3 separate regions of the Homo sapiens genome follow, and all the other regions are linked to region 2. The links are contacts of gene promoters, found by promoter capture Hi-C in human tissues and cell types (Jung and others, 2019). All regions are on one chromosome and are shown on one strand. The core of a region is centred on a gene start or on the middle of the fragment in contact, and the rest is flanking DNA. Distances in the headings are between cores, read along the strand shown.

Evidence for each region. Contacts are between HindIII fragments. The study calls those that stand out against the background at their distance.
Region 1: a contact is called between a fragment that was not itself captured here and the fragment with the promoter of C20orf141 in region 2, in 2 of the 25 tissues and cell types used here (adrenal gland and spleen).
Region 3: a contact is called between a fragment that was not itself captured here and the fragment with the promoter of C20orf141 in region 2, in 1 of the 25 tissues and cell types used here (bladder).

Annotation. Positions count from the first base shown.
Region 1 is chr20:2,674,942-2,679,114 of GRCh38, forward strand. The region is part of intron 2 of LOC105372507 (a long non-coding RNA gene); the gene reads right to left. Among named protein-coding and RNA genes, the nearest start is that of IDH3B-DT, 13 kb to the left of the region's middle. The HindIII fragment of the contact is 8,763 bases long and covers 1-4,173 here.
Region 2 is chr20:2,813,501-2,817,473 of GRCh38, forward strand. It overlaps C20orf141 (chromosome 20 open reading frame 141), which reads left to right and starts at 1,487. Exons shown (of 3, transcript NM_001256538.2): 1 at 1,487-1,517; 2 at 1,652-1,944; 3 at 2,038-2,330. The coding sequence starts at 1,685. The coding sequence ends at 2,275. It overlaps TMEM239 (transmembrane protein 239), which reads left to right and starts at 2,864. Exons shown (of 2, transcript NM_001167670.3): 1 at 2,864-2,915; 2 at 3,044-3,973. The coding sequence starts at 3,055. The coding sequence ends at 3,513. RefSeq lists a silencer at 3,361-3,420. The HindIII fragment of the contact is 18,533 bases long and covers 1-3,973 here.
Region 3 is chr20:3,058,144-3,062,155 of GRCh38, forward strand. No RefSeq gene overlaps it. Among named protein-coding and RNA genes, the nearest start is that of OXT, 11 kb to the right of the region's middle. RefSeq lists enhancers at 972-1,473, 1,474-1,973. The HindIII fragment of the contact is 4,505 bases long and covers 1-4,012 here.

The sequences.
Region 1 (4,173 bases), core at 1,067-3,566, 140 kb before region 2:
GGCTCAAGCAATCCTCCCCACTCAGCCTCCTGAGTAGCTTGGTGCCTGCCACCACGTACCATGCCAGCTAATTTTAAAAATACATTTTTGTAGAGATGAGATCTTGCTTTGTTCCCAAGGCTGGTCTTGAACTCCTGGCTTCAAGTGATCCTCCCTCCATAATCCCAAAGCCCTGGGACTACAGGCCTGAGCCACCACATCCGGCCCCATCCCCTCTTTTTTATTTTATTTTATTTTATTTTATTTTATTTTATTTTATTTTACTTTATTTTATTAAGACAGAGTCTTGCTCTGTCTCCCCGGCTGCCAGGCTGGAGTGCAGTGGCATGATCTCAGCTCACTGCAACCTCCACCTCCCAGGTTCAAGCTATTCTCCTGCCTCAGCTTCCCGAGTAACTGGGACTACAGGCATGCGCAACCACACCTGGCTTTTTTGTTTGGTGGTTGTTTTTAAGTAGAGACAGAGTTTCACCATGTTGGCCAGGCTGATCTTGAACTCCTGACCTCAAGCGACCTGCCCTCCTCGGCCTCTCAAAGTGCTGGGATTACAGGCATGAAACACCATGCCAGGCCCCCATCCCCTTTTTAAAAAGGTGCCCACTAACTTGTTACTGACCCAAAAAGTTCCTGTGACTCTCCAAACTGACACTCCCATTTTGGGATGGGTCAACTTGGATTTGGTGGCTACTAAGGGAGGGGCACAAAAGGCATTATTAATCCAATGGAAATACTGTATTCAGTAACACAGCTGGCCTGGTCCTAATATTAGCTGGGTTTTACATGAAAAAGTGGCAGCAAAAATCCCTTCAGGGGAAATCTTTTCCTAACTTCACCACTTGAAGCAAAGCTGCTGGCTCAATGGGGCCCTCAAGTCACAGAGGGTTCCCTAGGCACCTGGCCTGGTACAATGATGGTTTGGCTAGGCTGACACCTTATAGTGTCCACGTTCAACCTCAGCACCAGCTATGCAGAACCAAAAACAGGCATGGGCTGGGCGTGGTGGCTCACGCCTGTAATCCCAGCACTTTGGGAGGCCGAGGCGGGTGGATCACTTGAGGTCAGGAGTTCCAGATCAGCCTGGTCAACGTGGTGAAACCCCGTCTCTACTAAAAATACAAAAATTAGCCGGGCGTGGTGGCGTGCATCTGTAATCCCAGCTACTTGGGAGGCTAGGGGAAGAGAATTGCTTGAACTCAGGAGGCGGAGGTTGCAGTGAGCCGAGATCGCGCCATTGCACTCCAGTCTAGGCAACAGAGCGAGACTCCATCTCAAATTTAAAAAAATAATAATAAATAATAATTTTTTAAAAAAAGCAAGCATGACTGCTCCACTCAATGGACAGAGCTCAAGGGAGTGCTGATAGTTCTGGCCAATACTCCCCGTGATGAACCCTTCTACATTTTTACTGCCTTTTGTGTGGTTGCCAATGGCCTAGCTATCTTGCCCACAAGACTGGAAGATTAAAGACATTCCCTATTGCAGCTGCATATTGTGGAAATAATTTCAGCTGCCAATCAGATGCCCAAGTTACTCACAGAGATGCCCATGGTAAGGGCCCTTCTCTAATGAGACAAACTGTAGTCAAGCTGCTGATCCAGACTTCACTGCCCATACCACCACCATCACCACCTAGATCCGTCATCGAACAAGACATAACAACACATTCACCATCGTGGACTGAGCACAAAATCAAAAACTGTTTCAGGCCAGGCGCAGTGACTCACACCTGTAATCCTAGTACTTTGGGAGGCCAAGGCAGGCGGATCACTTGACGTCAGGAGTTTGAGACCAGCCCGGCCAACATGGTGAAACCCCATCTCTACTAAAACTACAAAAAGTAGCCAGGTGTGGTGGCAGGCGCCTGTAATCCCACCTACTTGGGAGGCTGAGGCAGGAGATTCGCTTGAACCTGGGGGGCAGAAGTTGCAGTGAGCCGAGATCGCATCACTGCACAGTGAGACTCTGTCTCAAAAAACAATAACAACAACAACAAAACAACTATGTGTTTCTGATGCAGAAGACACCACTACATACCAGAGCTGTGGTGCCTCCCAAAATTTGAGCCATTTGTCTTGCAGGGAAGGAGGCCGCATTGCACACAGAGTATTGCCCCCAGTTGCTCCTGGATGATTGTCCAGATATCAGATAGCTGACCCCCTCCCCAGGCTGTGTCATTGGTGCCTCACTTCTGTCAGAACGTTTTCAGGTTACAATGTTGCTGTTCTTGTCTGTTCTAGTCTGAATAGAGTCTGGGGCCCCAGTCACACTATTTTGGCCCCTGAAACTAAGTCATGTCAAGTTTTTGGATTCTCAGACCACCTACAGTCTGACAGTGATGCACCTTTTATTGCAAAAGCCGCCCAACAATGGGCCAGTAGTCAAAGTATTCGATGGACATGCTAGGCTCCCTACCATCTGCTAGTATCTGGTATTATTGAGCACTGGAATGGCCTCCTCCAAAGCTTCTGACTACCTCCATCAACTCCTTCTGGGCCACATACTTCAGCGAGGCAGTATGATCACTGAATGCAGCTATCTCCAAAGATCATCTCCTTTCAGCCACTTCCTGGGTACTGATCAGGATGAAAACAGGTGGAGGGTTATATAGATCTATTCTGAAAAGTTGGGAGCATGGTGCTTCTTTTTTCTTTCCTCTCCCACCCCTAACCCAACAGCAACCCCACACCAGCCTGCTTGGTGCACCCTCCAGGTGTCAGCCCGGCAAAAGGGGACTTAGGGGATTCAAACTTATCTCTAATTCTGGTTTAGCCACTTGGATTCTCTTGACAGATTAACCTGATCCCAGATCAGTGTACTCATTGAATACAATTGCTTGCCAAATTGAGTACACTGGTTGAGTACATTCCTTGCCAAGTTCTCTCACACTGGCTCATATAGGCCAAGGTGCGAGATACAATGGATGTCTGTAAATTTTGTAAAAATGTCCTTGTCTCACTCACGCCTCGCTCTAGCAGACAAAAGGTCTGGGTATGAGTAGGGAAAGATCGGAGAAATGATGAAGTTATGGCTACTGGAATGAGATATGCTGCTTTCATAGCCAGGAAGCCTGCGAGAAGACACCTTAGATGCCAGCAGGTGCAAACAGTGGAGAATGATCAATGTGCTCTTTGTCCCCTAGATCCAGCATTGAAACCTAGAAAAACCATCATCTCGTTCATCTGAGTTGAGCAGCAGCTGCAGCTGACAGTCTTACCCTTTCTGGATTTATCATGCTGCCTGCATGCTATGAAAACAGGGGAATTCATAAGGAGGTGGCCAGTCCTGGCTATTCAGTTGTGGCCTTTGCCAGCCATCAATGGCAGCTCCCAAATATGGAACCTCCCCTTACCCCATACATGCACAAACACACCATCCAGCACAACCTTGTTTGTCTGATTGGTACAAACACAGGCACTTTTCCTGTCACCCACGTGGCTTTGGTTCATGTATGGTGTCTGAGGATGCAAGCGTTAGGTGACACCATCCATGTGGCTAAACCAAACCAGTGTAATGATAATCCAAATCAGAATCAACAACAAATTCTGAATTCAAGTAACACGTAACCTGTTGGGTGTATGTTTGTATGTGGGCCATGTGATGTCTCTCCATTAGGGATGAGGGTTGCTTTTGGCCCATCTATCACTTCATATAATTACTGGCGATGACATTGAGGACCAGTAGATTAGTCTAGAACTCACTTATGCAGGTTGTAATGGATAATGACCTGGCCTTAGACTGTATCCTGGCCTACTAAGGCCTACTGATCCCCTTGAGACTTATTCACAGGTGACTGAGTCTGAGACGCCGGGTGGCATTGTTGAAGCCAATACTGTTGGTTGGCCTCATCTTGCTTGAGGTTCTATTGGTAGTAAATTCTGTATGAGACAAATTGAGCAAATTTGGTCCCAGTCTAGGGTGATCAGATTGATTGGAGTGGCAGATGGAGTGGTATACTCATGGGAATATTCCACTTTGGCCAAGAATGTGTAAGGTCAATTATTGGGAGAGGAAAGCTGTCAGAGGCCCTGAACGTCCCAGCACATTTTTACTGAGTATGCCAAGACTACAAGGCCCTGACCCCTCTTTCCTGGGCTGTTTCTCAGGGTCGTGCATTGCAGTAAGCCACCTTGAGGAATGAGGTTAATATCTCTCTCCAGGACAAAGAGCAGACTT
Region 2 (3,973 bases), core at 237-2,736:
TGCAAGCCAATTAAGCCTCTTTTCTTATAAATTACCCAGTCTCAGGTATTTCTTCATAGCAACGCAAGAATGGCCTAATACACCCACCATCTGGTGCAGTGCCTGGCACATAGGAAGCACTTAAATAAATGATTGTTGAATACAAAATAAACTCTGAGAAAATCACAGACAGAACTCTCCTATACATGCATACAGAGCACCTGGTGCATAGTAAATCTTTAAGGAGCTTTAGACTCTCCGATCCCCCCATGCCCTGCAATATGGAGTAGCCTCATCTTGGTGGACTCATCAGGACATGCTCCCCAGGTCTGTATGTCCAGGAATGCAATTGTGTGGATGCATCCAGGATTGATCAGGCTCAGGGAATTGCCAATCTTAAACCTTAATGTTCCTTTACAAGCACAATTGGAACTTAATGCCAAAAAAAAAAAAATTCTGGGATCTTCTGTTATACCCTATCCCATTACGGACAAATCTACTCGTAAAACCCAGCTGCTGGATAAGCAAGAACAGCCAGACCAAGGGCGATCAGTGCATGGTCATTAGGGCTGGTGACCCTCGTCTCTGGGCAAGGCCTGCTGGAGGTGGATATGCAGCCTGATTCTTGTTCTGTCTCCTCCTCTCCTAGGGGCTGTATGGCCACTGTCTCCCATTTTGCCACCCCTACCAGTTTTCCTTCAAAGTATGATATGTGGGCAAAGATTAAGTTCTCTTAATTATGACACATTTCCGCTCTTGCCTCTCAAGTCACTAAACTGAGATGTGCTGGACCCCTATGGCCACCACCCATTTACAGATGATCAGTGTAATCTGATATACTGATAATCCAAGTGACTAAGCCCTTCATTATATGTTCATTTTCCTTAACTCCATTCTCAGACTGTAACCTTAACCTCTAATAAGGGGGTTACTAGGTCATAGTCCTCTTAAGTTCATGTCCTCTACCTCATTACTGGAACCCCAGTATGCATAACACCCCCTATAAACTGTAGTGCTTAGAATACCTGAACAGCCCCCTCCTCTCTCACCCCCATTTAGCAGGTTATGCGGAAGCCCAGCCCCAGAAGCCTCAGGCAGTCCCCTGGCAGAGCCCATCTCTGCAATCTGGAACTTCAGGCCTGAAAAATCCCCTAGAAGGACCCACAGGGAAGACAGCTGGGGACAGAGATATTGAATGACTTCGCCCTGGACCTGCAGCTCTGCAAACTCACAGGAAGAAGAAAGCAGACCTCGCTCCCTTGGACAGATGCCCAAGTAGTAATGGGGTTAGAATGCCTTCCTGACAACTCAGATCCCCAAGGGAGGGCCCTAGGGCAGAGAATCAGCAAAGGCAAGAGGATGAGTCTTAGTTCTCAGAAATCCCTGACTTCCCAGCTAAGCCCCACCTAGGCCACCAGCTGCTTATGAGGTCAGAGCAGCAGCAGCAGCAGCCCCCTCCCTACCCCACGGCCCCACGTGGTAACAGGTCACAATGCCCCGGGTGCCCACTCCCAGAATGCTGACCAAAGTGGGAGGAGGTGAGGAGGGTTTGCTGGGTGGGTATGGGGGAGGGGGAGACTCTGCAGGAGCCTAATTCCCCACTCTGAGCTCACCCTTCTGTCTGCCCGGGCCCTACCCCTTCCCCTACTCTCACCCTTATAATCCTTTTCAGCACTAGGTCTTCCCGTCACCTCCACCTCTCTCCATGACCCGGCTCTGCTTACCCAGACCCGAAGCACGTGAGGATCCGATCCCAGTTCCTCCAAGGGGCCTGGGTGCTGGGGAGGGGTCAGGTAGTCCAGTGCGTCCACCTGTATCCACCTGGGGCCCTAGCTGGGCCCAGCTCCTGGACAGTGTCCTATGGCTGGGGGCACTAGGACTGACAATCCAGGCAGTCTTTTCCACCACTGGCCCAGCCCTGCTGCTGCTTCTGGTCAGCTTCCTCACCTTTGACCTGCTCCATAGGTAAGTGGGCAGCAGCCTGGCAGGTGGGCATTGTAGGCGGGCGGGCCAGTGGACAACTTCCCTAAGCCCAGTCACCACCCTCTCTCTCCACAGGCCCGCAGGTCACACTCTGCCACAGCGCAAACTTCTCACCAGGGGCCAGAGTCAGGGGGCCGGTGAAGGTCCTGGACAGCAGGAGGCTCTACTCCTGCAAATGGGTACAGTCTCAGGACAACTTAGCCTCCAGGACGCACTGCTGCTGCTGCTCATGGGGCTGGGCCCGCTCCTGAGAGCCTGTGGCATGCCCTTGACCCTGCTTGGCCTGGCTTTCTGCCTCCATCCTTGGGCCTGAGAGCCCCTCCCCACAACTCAGTGTCCTTCAAATATACAATGACCACCCTTCTTCATCAGGCCCCCTTTTCTCCTTCCTGGCTGGGCAGGTGGGATGATACCCCTTTCTTCCCAGCCTGAACCTCACAGTCCTATAATATAGGTATCAGATACCTGGATCTGAGTCTTTGGGCAGCAAGAGAAGGTAGGATACTAGCCAGGGAGCCCAAGGAAGAATGTGGCAGCCACCTCAGAGCCTGTGGATTGGGGGCAGCCACTCTGGCCTCCTCTGTGGCTCTAGAGAATGAAGGTCCAGACAGAAAGACTTGCGAGAGAGCAGTTTGGAAAGGGGTGGATATCAGCCAGCAGGGAAAGCAGGAAAGGGACAGGGATCCAGGGAGGGCTTCCCATGAGAAAGCATGAGAAACTACATCTGCGGGGCTCCGAGGCTCCCCTGCCAGCCTGGAGGGTCCGTGCAGAGGGACTTGGGTGGGCCTCACACCCTACAGTGACTCCTCTCTTGGCTGGACCCCACCCCAGCCCGGGTCACAAAGGGGCTCCTCTGGGGAGGGTGGGGGTAGATGAGAGTGGGGACTTGGATCTGCCTGCCAGGCCGTCCTGGGCGCTGCAGGAAGCAACATGACTTAGGTAACTGCCCAGAGGTAAGTCCCAGTCCCTAATTCTGTAGCCCCACCCCACGCACACTGGTGCCCTCCTGACCCCTGCACCCCCTCTCTGCCCCCCCCCCCCAAGGTCCCAGGCATCTTCAAGACCCTGGCCCTCTCCCCAGGTGCACCAGACATGATGCAGCAGCCGCGAGTGGAGACAGATACCATCGGGGCTGGCGAGGGGCCACAGCAGGCAGTGCCCTGGTCAGCCTGGGTCACGAGGCATGGCTGGGTGCGCTGGTGGGTGAGCCACATGCCCCCGAGCTGGATCCAGTGGTGGAGCACCTCGAACTGGCGGCAACCGCTGCAGCGCCTGCTGTGGGGTCTGGAGGGGATACTCTACCTGCTGCTGGCACTGATGTTGTGCCATGCACTCTTCACCACTGGCTCCCACCTGCTGAGCTCCTTGTGGCCTGTCGTGGCCGCGGTGTGGCGCCACCTGCTACCGGCTCTCCTGCTGCTGGTGCTCAGTGCTCTGCCTGCCCTCCTCTTCACGGCCTCCTTCCTGCTGCTCTTCTCCACACTGCTGAGCCTTGTGGGCCTCCTCACCTCCATGACTCACCCAGGCGACACTCAGGATTTGGATCAATAGAAGGGCAACCCCATCCCACTGCCTGTGTCTGTTGAGCCCTGGCCTAGGGCCTGAGACCCCACGGGGAGAGGGAGGGCAATGGGATCAGGGCTCCCTGCCTTGGCAGGGCCCAGACCCCTAGTCCCTAACAGGTAGACTGGCCTGACCCCGGACTCCTTCCTCAAGTCAATGCTGCAGGTTCCTGGTGTGAGGGGCTGGGGGCTTTGAGAAGAGGGGGCAAGACAGATGGCTTAGCCATTGGTGAAAATTGCTTAGCCAGGGGCAGAGCTTGACCAAGCCACTGATAGCGCCCATATGGATGTGATGATACCCGTGGGGCCCCCTTGGCAACTGACAGCATCTTTTTCTCATAGCCACTCAGCTGTCTCAGCTTCAGACTCACTGAGAACTTCTACCTGGGTACCACTGGCCTTGCCATTCCTCCCACCAATCCCCTCTTTCCACTTCCAGGAGAACCACA
Region 3 (4,012 bases), core at 514-3,013, 240 kb after region 2:
CCCACCTTGGCCTCCCAAAGTGCTGGGATTATAGGCATGAGCCACTGAGCCTGGCAGATTGTCTTTTCACCAAAAAAATGATGGACAAGTTACTGTACCTTGCATTCTTTATCTCTAAAAAGGAGACATGTTGCATGGTGAACCTCTGAATTTTGGAGTCAACACTGGCCACATTTGAATGTTCTGCTCGTCAGGACTAGAAGTGCTGCCAGCTTTGAGGGGCATTTAGGGCAAGAGAAGACAGCTTAAGAGATCCAGTTGCAAGGCAGGCCACTCTGTACTTTGGGCCTTATGATCCAGTAGATCCAGTAGAACTGGTACTCAAGATGTCCACAGTTAACCAGAATGCTATGTGGACCTGTAGTAAGCTTCAGTGGATACTCACATCAGAAGTCCCTTGGGTTTGTTTTTTGTTTTTTGTTGTTGTTGTTTGTTTGTTTTCCTTTTTTATGTTGAGACGGAGTATCATTCTGTCACCCAGGCTGGAGTGCAGTGGAGTGATCTCGGCTCACTGCAACCTCCGCCTCCCAGGCTCAAGCAATTCTCCTGCCTCAGCCTCCTGAGTAGATGGAACTACAGGTGTGCACCACCACACCTGGCTAATTTTTGTATTTTTAGTAGAGAGGGGTTTCACCATGTTGGCCAGGCTAGTCTCGAACTCCTGACCTCAGGTGATCCTCCCACCTCGGCCTCCCAAAGTGCTGGGATTACAAGTGTGAGAAAATATATACTTTTTTTGTTTGTTTGTTTGTTTGAGACAGAGTTTTGCTCTTGTCACCCAGACTGGAGTGCAGTGACATGATCTCGGCTCACTGCAACCTCCATCTCCTAGGTTCAAGCAATTCTCCTGCCTCAGCCTCCCAAGTAGCTGGGATTACAGACGCCCACCACCATGCCCAGCTAATTTTTGTATTTTTAGTGGAGGGTTTCAACATGTTGGCCAGGCTAGTCTTGAACTCCTGGCCTCAAGTGATCCGCCCACCTTGGCCTCTCAAAGTGCTGGGATTACAGGCGTGGGCCACCGTGCCCGGCTGAGTATACTCTATTTTTATTTGTCAATTATACCTCAATAAAGCTGGGGGAAAAAAACTGAAAAAATACTGGTCATGAATTATTTTTCTTTGGTGGGGCTACCATTCTCTCCCACTCCACTGGCTGTGTGGAAATAGCCCACACATCGGTTGCAGGTGCAGAGGACATCTGAGGACAGGCTCGCCCTGCCCACCACCATTGCCACTGGTGCCCGAGCATGCCTTCCAGGGCCTGGGGATCAATCCATCCTATCTGCCACTGCCAGTGCCCATGCACACCATCTGGGGGGCTGAAAACAGGCCTGCCCTGCCCTTCACCACCACCATTGCTGCCAGCACCTGTGCACATCATCCAGGGGCCTGAGATTCAATCTGCCCAGCCCACCACCATCACCACCCGTGTGCACCATCCAGGGGCCTAAGGGTCCCACCCTACCTACTGATGTCAATGCTAGTACCCATGCATGTCATCCAGGGGTCTGGGGGTTGACCTGCACTGTCAGCACACATGCACGCCTTCCAGGGACCTGAGGATGGGCTCACCCCACCTACTGCTGCCGTCCATGTGTACTGTCCAGAGACCTAGGGATTGATCCACCCACTTCACTGCCACTGGTGTGCATGCCACACATGCACACTGTCCAGGAGCCCAAGGACAGGTCCACCTTGCCTACCACTGATTCCTGTGTGCATCTCCCAGAGGCCCAGGCACTGGCCCACCCAGCCTGCTGCTGCCAGTCAGTACCAGCACGCCACCCAGGGGCCTGGGGACTGGCCCAAACAGATTGCTGTTACCACCACCCTGTCCAAAAAAAAAAAAGACCCAATTGTATGCTGCCTATCAGAAATTCACTTCACCCGTAAAGACACACATAGACTGAAAATGAATAGATGAAAAAAAAATTCCATGCAATTCCATAAAATTGGGGAAAAAATGACTGTTATAAGTGACTGATATCCTGCATGCTTTTATTTATTTATTTATTTATTTTTTGAGACGGAGTTTCGTTCTTGTTGCCCAAGCTGGAGTGCAATGGTGCGATCTTGGCTTACTGCAACCTCTGCCTCCTGGGATTACAGGCACCCGCCACCACACCCAGCTAATTTTTGTATTTTTAGTAGAGACGGGGTTTCACCATGTTGGCCAGGCTGTACTTGAACTCCTGACCTCAGGTGATCTGCCTGCCTCTGCCTCCCAAAGTGCTGGGATTACAGGTGTGAGCCACCACACCGGCCTTGCATGCTTTCAGTTTCCAATCATTTGGAAGCCAAAATTATTGGAACAGTCATTAATAGCCTACTATATAACAACAAATGCCTACATCAAAAAAAGTAGGAAGACTTCAAGTAAACAACCTCATGATGCTCCTCAAGGAGCTAGAAAAGCAAGAATAAACCAAACCCAAAGGAAAGAAACATAAAGATCAGAGCAGAACTAAACAGAATAGAGACTAAAAAAGGGAAACAAAGGGTCAATGAAATAAAAACTTGTTTTTTAAAAAATATAAACAAAATCCACAAACCTGTGCTTGGTGTGTGAGAAAAAAAAAAAAAAAATCAATAAGCCACTACCAGGACTAACCTAGAAAAAAAGAGAGAAGACCCAAATAAAATTAGAAATGAGAAAGGAGACATACAACTGATATCACAGAAATACAAGGGATCATTAGAAACTATTATGAACAACTATACACTAACAAATTGGAAACCCTAGAGGATATCTATGAATTCCTGGACACAAACAACCTACCAAGATTGAACCAGGAAAAAAATAGAAAACCTGAAGAGATCAATGATGAGTAACCACATTGAATCAATAATTAAAAGTCTCTCAACAGAGAAAAGCTCAGGACCAGATGGCTTTACTGTGGAATTCTACCAATTTATAAAGAACTAACACCCATTCTTCTCAAACTATTCCTAAAAATTGAAGAGAATTTTTTTCTAACTCATTCTATGAGGCCAGCGTTACCCAGACACCAAAACCAGACTAGGACACACACAACAACAAAAGAAAACTACAGGCCAATATACCTGATAAACATAGATGCAAAAATCCTCAACAAAATACAGTTGATCCTTGAAGAATGTGGAGGCTATGGATGCCAAAACCCTGCACACTAGAAAATTCACATATAACGTTTGACCCCCCCAAAACTTAATTACTAATAATTAAGTGAAAGGCCTTTACAATGAAAACTATAAGACACTGATAAAAAAAAATTGAAGTCCGGGCGCCGTGGCTCACACCTGTAATCCCAGCACTTTGGGAGGCTGAGGCGGGTGGATCACAAGGTCAGAAGTTCGAGACCAGCCTGGCCAAGATGGTGAAACCCCATCTCTACTAAAATAAATAAAAAATTAGCCGGGCGTGGTGGCAGGCGCCTGTAGTCCCAGCTACTCCGGAGGCTGAGGCAGGAGAATTCCTTGAACCTGGGAGGCGGAGGTTGCAGTGAGCCGAGATCGTGCCACTGCACTCTAGCCTGGGCGACAGAGCAAGACTCCATCTCAAAAAAAAAAAAAAAAAGAAAAAAAATTGAAAAGGATACAAACAAATGGAAAGGCATCCCATGCTCATGGATTGGAAGAGTATTGTTAAATGACTGTACTACTCAAAGCAATCCACAGATTCAGTGCAATCCCTATCAAAATACCAATGACATTCTTCACAGAAATAGAAAAAACAATCTGAAAATTTGTATGGAACCACAAAAGATACTTAATAGCCAAAGCAATAATGAGCAAAAAGAACAAAGCTTAGAGGTACCACACCACCTGACTTCAAAATTTACTACAAAGGTGTAGTAATCAAAACAGCAGGCTATTGGTATAAAAATAGACACAGACCAATAGAACAGACTGGAGAATCCAGAAATAAATCCATGTGTTTACAGTCAACTGATTTTTGACAAAGGCATCATGAACAAACACTGGGGAAAGAACATCCTCTTTAATAAATGATGCTGGGAAAACAGGATATC